Linked DNA regions of Homo sapiens: region 2 is linked to region 1. The links are contacts of gene promoters, found by promoter capture Hi-C in human tissues and cell types (Jung and others, 2019). All regions are on one chromosome and are shown on one strand. The core of a region is centred on a gene start or on the middle of the fragment in contact, and the rest is flanking DNA. Distances in the headings are between cores, read along the strand shown.

Evidence for each region. Contacts are between HindIII fragments. The study calls those that stand out against the background at their distance.
Region 2: the fragment with the promoter of CDC37L1 here is called in contact with the fragment with the promoter of PDCD1LG2 in region 1 in 1 of the 25 tissues and cell types used here (lymphoblastoid cells).

The regions. Positions count from the first base shown.
Region 1 is chr9:5,509,138-5,511,961 of GRCh38, reverse strand. It overlaps PDCD1LG2 (programmed cell death 1 ligand 2), which reads right to left and starts at 1,431. Exons shown (of 7, transcript NM_025239.4): 1 at 1,159-1,431. All of the region lies in intron 2 of INCR1 (interferon stimulated noncoding RNA 1), which reads left to right. RefSeq lists enhancers at 1,333-1,382, 1,543-1,602, 1,663-1,742, 1,684-2,824. The HindIII fragment of the contact is 28,529 bases long and covers 1-2,824 here.
Region 2 is chr9:4,678,183-4,681,006 of GRCh38, reverse strand. CDC37L1 (cell division cycle 37 like 1, HSP90 cochaperone) reads right to left here and starts at 1,438. Exons shown (of 7, transcript NM_017913.4): 1 at 1,108-1,438. The coding sequence starts at 1,239. CDC37L1-DT (CDC37L1 divergent transcript) reads left to right here and starts at 1,527. Exons shown (of 2, transcript NR_121598.1): 1 at 1,527-1,620. RefSeq lists an enhancer at 1,215-1,304. The HindIII fragment of the contact is 7,477 bases long and covers 1,238-2,824 here.

The DNA.
Region 1 (2,824 bases), core at 182-2,681:
ATTCGGCAAGCACCCACTAAGCACCTATGTGTATTGCCAGGTACTGCACTAGGAACTTGGGACTCAGAGAACCTTAAAGGTGTGCTTCTTGCCTGTGAGGAGCTCCAGTTCAATGGAAAAGCTCACCAACAGGAGAAATCTGGGGAGAAGACACCCTGAAGCAGCAGACAACAAAGAGCCTGATGATGGGGAGACCTCAAATAATGAAGGCAAATAGATCAGGTTCCAGTGGCAAGAGCAGCAGGACCAGGATTGTTCATCCACTCACAGAATCTTAGGCTTGGAAAGGAGCTTGGAGGACATCCAGGCCAACTCCGTATTTGACCCTGATACAACTGTCTCATTACTGCTCACACTGAATATTTTTACTCTGCATTTTGTCAATTTAGGTCTCTCATTCCCTGCCCCTCAGAGCCATAGTATTTTTGGGTTAAAAGTCCTGATTAGTTGGTAATCTCACTCAGGCTTAGCCTCTCCACCTCCATCCCCTCCACATGAACCCATTGCCTTTGCTCTTCTACTCAGTGCATCCAGGCGGTGAGCAATCAATAGCAATTATTTCAGTTCTGTTTAATTTTTCTACCTTTTCGCTGATCATTTTATATGGAAAGAATAAGCCTTTCCATAGTCCCCAAATCATGCTTTTGTTCAATAATGATTACCTCTATAAGTTATTAAGATAATAGTTTTGGGTTTTTTGTTTTTGTTCCCCCTCCACCAACAGCTGCCTCTTAGGCATAGCTTGTAAACAAAGGCCAGCCTGGAGGGATCACCGTCTGCTAAATGGATAATCACAAACAGATGTCAGTCATAGGAAAACAGATTTTTAAGTTCTTCACCATTAAGCCTCCGAAAACTCTAAGCTGAGAGACAATCTTAAGAATAGTTATATTATTTTACAGTGCACATATTTGGTGCAGAAAATATCTCACCTTATAAAACTGAGCAACAAGAACAATATGCATAGGAACAAGTGAGAGAAATCTGGGGCAGGAGGACATTAGCTTATTTGTGCCCCTCAGCACAATTTCTGAGGCAGAATGTCTCTTGCCTCAAATGGTGTGGAGAGAAGGTAGGCCACCCTTCCCCCACCCTGGCAGCCTCATCATGGTCCACAACATAATAGTATGAGAGTATCTCAACCCACTCGTTACTCACATGAGGACTTGCCACAGCTCCACAAGTAAAGATGCAAAAGTAAACAACAAAAAACAGTTGCTGTTTGTGTTAGATTTCCTTATAGTAGCCACCAAAATGAACAGCCAAAAGGAAAAACAAAACAATCAACATGCAGTAGCTCCAACCCAGGATTCTTTCTAGCTGGGACATATGAGGATGGGTAACAAAAAAGCACTCAAAATTTGGCGTTAAGATATATTCAAGAGAAGAAAAGTTGTTCATTCAGCTTAAGGTTTGCCGTAACATGAGAGTGAGTCAAACCAGAACTAGTTCTGAGGAACTGACGAAAGCCTGGCTTATTTGGAAAGTTTTGGTTTTGCTTTTAGCAGTTTGTCTGTGAATGGGATTGCATTCCTGATTTGGCTCTTGGCTTAGCTATGGTTGGTGTTTAGGAATACTAGTGATTTTTGTATGTTCATGTGGGATCCTGAAACTTTCTGAAGTTTATCAGCTTAAGGAGCTTTTGGGCTGAGACTGTGGGATTTTCTAGATATAAAATTATGTCATCTGCAAACATGGGTAGTTTGACTTCCTCTCTTCCTTCTTGGATGCCTTTTCTTTCTTTCTCTTGCCTGATTGCTCTGGCCAGGACTTCCAATAGTATGGTGAATAGGAGTGGTGAGAGAAGGCAGCCTTGTCTTGTGCCGGTTTTCAAGGGGCATCCTTCCAGCTTTTGCCTATTCAGTGTGATGTTGGCTGTGGGTTCATCATAGATGGCTCTTATTATTTTGAGGTATGTTCCTTCAATACCTGGTTTGTTGAGAGTCTTTTTTTTAACATACCTTGAGAGTTTTTAATACCCTTTTATTCCCTCTCTTTCCCCTATTCTTATATGTGCTCCAGCTTCCCCATTGTCCCTGGAGCACATTTAGGAATAGGGGAAAGGGATGGAATGAAGAATACCAGCATGTCTTAGTGCTGTGCCAGGAAATTGACTCATTTCCTAGGGCTTCTGTAACACATGACCTCAAGTCCTTGGCATTCCCTGACTTATAGTTGTATCACTCCAATCTCTGCCTCCATCTTCAAATGACATTCTTTTCTGTGTGTATCTCTACATTCCTCTCCTCTTATGAGGATACCATCCGTTTGATTAGTGCCCACCCTAATGCAGTATGACCTCATTTAGACTACATCTGCGTAGACCCTACTTCCAAATATAGTCACATTCTGAGGTCCTCAGTAGACATGAATTTGGGGGGAACATTATTCAACTAACCTCACTTCATTTCATAGTGCCTCATTTCATTCTCAGTGCAATGTGTGGTTTAGAGTTAGACCCATTTTACACATGAGAAAACAGGACCAAGATCAAACAATGTTTCCTTAGTTGCATGGCTGAATTTGAACTCGGACCTCAGTGGCCCCACTATACCTTCAGGCTTGTGATTGGTGAGATTAAAACCACATGGCAAGAAAAGGCAAACTTGAATATAGGCCTGAATGATCAATCCTTCTCCTGCTGCCTCCCGCCCTTTTCCTTGTGCTTATAGGGGTAGGACCAGCAGAGATGTGGGGCTGAACACTCAGACAGAGGATGTTTTTAAGAAAACATCTCTCCTTGCCTGTCCTCTAAGCCTTCCCTGCCTCCTTGTTTCTTCTACAAAAGCAAGGATCTCCTTTCCTCCTCCTTGTCCTGCATCCT
Region 2 (2,824 bases), core at 189-2,688, 830 kb after region 1:
GTCTTGTAGTTCCCCAGTGACTTAGCTGGCCAAAGTACAGACAGTGGTTATGAAACAGCATTTTTCTCTGTGTGAAGCCAACTAACCCTGTTAGCTGGACATAAGATTGATAATGTCACGCTTACTGGTAAGCAATTTAACTCATTCTCATTAACATCTAGCAAAATAAGTTGAGAGGAAAACTACTATTAAATCTGTTACACTCTTGGGAACCCCATTTTGCAAGAAGGCGGCAGACACTTATGATCCATTGAATATATTAGTGTTTAGTCTGTGATTCTGAAATATACTTCCAAAACACACACGGATTCGGAGAAAAAAACAGGACAAGGTGATGCGAGTATGTAAGTATCCCCTAAGATAGGTCCCTGAAAAATCCTTAATAGTATATCACATTTGGATACGTTTCAGTCGCAGGAAGGCAGGAATGCTGGATTGAAAACACAATACCAGGAACCTAAGAGAAGTCTGAAGGAAAACACAAGTATATGCGTATATATTTTCACTGGAGAATGACGTGAAGCAAAACTAAAAAACAAAACAGTAAGGCAAAGATGGTCACGCGAATGGGAGAGGTGTACGCCAGCGTCAAAAGCGAGATTTAAAGAATTTACTCAGTTGTCAACATCGGTGAAAATCGCATGTGAAATCTTTGTCAGGACTCAGTGTGATGCTGAACTACAATCATTCACTGTTCCTAGCAACTGTGCACAAGTATGCTAGAGCCTTTAACAGAATAAAGTGCTTGGGGAAAACCTCTCACAAGAGGACAAAGGGTCAATGTTACAGCATGAGCCGCCCCAAATCTGAGTGCTGTCAGGAAGGGGAGATGGAGGAAGGTATTCCAAGAGTGAACAGGAATCAGCCAAGGCGAAAGAAAACATGTGCGTGGAGGTGGAGGTTGGTAATATATGGCCACCCCGTCTGCCCTCCGAAGATGCCATAAAAGGGGTGGGATGGCATCAGGCGTCAGGTCCCAGGTCCCCGGCCCCTGGCAGTGAGGTGGGCGTAGAAAAAGGCGTAGAAGAGGGTCTGGGAGACGCGGCATTCCAGGGGTTTGGCGACAGCACCACTCCATCCCTCCGCAGAACGCAGGCCCCTTCTCACCTGGGCGCCGCCGCCTGGCAGCTGCGGGCAGCGGGGAGAACTGGGGAACACGTCGAAGTCACTCTCTTCCTCAGCCTCACCCTCGGCCCGAGGGAGGCTCCAGGGTCCCGGAGGCGGCCACGGTTGTTCCATGTCCGGCTGCTCCGGGTCCTACAACCGCCCTTGGCCCTACAACTGCCACTGCCAACAGACTTGGCGTGAATGGAACCTGCTGCGCCGAGCCAGAAGCCCAGCCGGGGGTCCGGGCCGTTACCCAGAATCCCTCTACTGGCCGCGACGCCGCTGCACACCCGGCGACAGCCTGGGCCTCGCCACCGGCGGACGGCGGAAGAAATAGTCGGCGCGGTGCGTCACTTCCGGTTGGGGCGGGGCTGTGGAGGCGCGTCCCGGGCCCTTTGCGTGTAGTGGGTGGATCTGCAATTGTATTCCTGTTTCAAGCCCCGTTTTCTTGCAGCTCTTCGGCACTGCAAACCTAACCGCTAATGGCGCTGTGGGTGGAGAAACGTTTGTTAGGTAGCGTTATATATTGTTATCTGGTGTTCCCTATACCGAAAACGGCGGGTCCTGGCCGCCGGGAGGTACTCAGACCAGGTGTGCACTTTACATGTTGCTTAAAAATTGCAACTCATTCCTTTACATTGACATTTAAACCAGTGATTCTAAGGCAGAGTTGGGGCGGAGGGAGGAGAATTTTGAACAAGCGGAGCCAATTTTCGTCTCATTTCTAATTACAGGCAACAACAGAATTCTGCGAAACTTGGTTGGTTGGAGGAGCACACCAAAAATAAAGTACCGGAGCCGGCACGGCTTCAAAAAAATTAGGATCAGTACCGCTAGTAGCGAACGCATAAGAAGGGCTTCCTGTATGCCTGCGTATCTTGTTTAAGCCTAAAGATATGTACTCTCTTTATCCTCTTTTTTTGAGACGAGGAAGTAGACCCAGCATGCCCGAGATCACACATTTTACAAGGAAGAAGTAGGATCCAGACCCAGGGAGTTTAACTTCAAAACTTGAACGTTTAACAATCAGGTCTTGCTGCCCTACTCATAAAGAGACCCAAATAAAAACAACATGACGCCATTTTTTTCCATGTGTTTAGACTGGCAAACTTGTGAAGTCGCTTAATACCAAATGTGTACCAAGATGTAAGGAAATGATGTGAGAATGTCATTAGTATAACCTTTTAGGAGGAGTAATTTGACAATATGAGAGGCTTGAGCGGATTGATTCAGCAATTTCACCACTAAGAAAGTATGCAACAATTATTTTTGCACCAATATCCAAAGATTTACTACAAAGATTTCTGGCAGCAATTTTTGTGTGTGTGTGGCAAGAAAAAAAAAAGCATTCTAATTGTCCATCGATAGAGGAACTTAAAGTATGGAATATTAATACAATGGCATATTACCCTTTTTAAAAAAAGTAAATTGTATCTGAATATGCTGATATATAAATACCTCCAAAAGGTATTGAGTTTTAAACAAAGCAACTTGCAGAATTAAACATATGCGTACGTATACAGAGAGAGAAGAGAGAGGGATGGTATTTGTTTGCGTCCGTGTGTGTGTGTGTGTGTGTGTGTGTGTGTGTGTGTGTTTGCGCAGAACATTCCTGGAGGATATGCAAGAAACTGTTAATGATTACCTCTGGTGGGTGAGCCTAGGAAGGAAAGCTTCTGAGGATCTTTACTTTCCACATTTAGCTTCCCTGTACTGT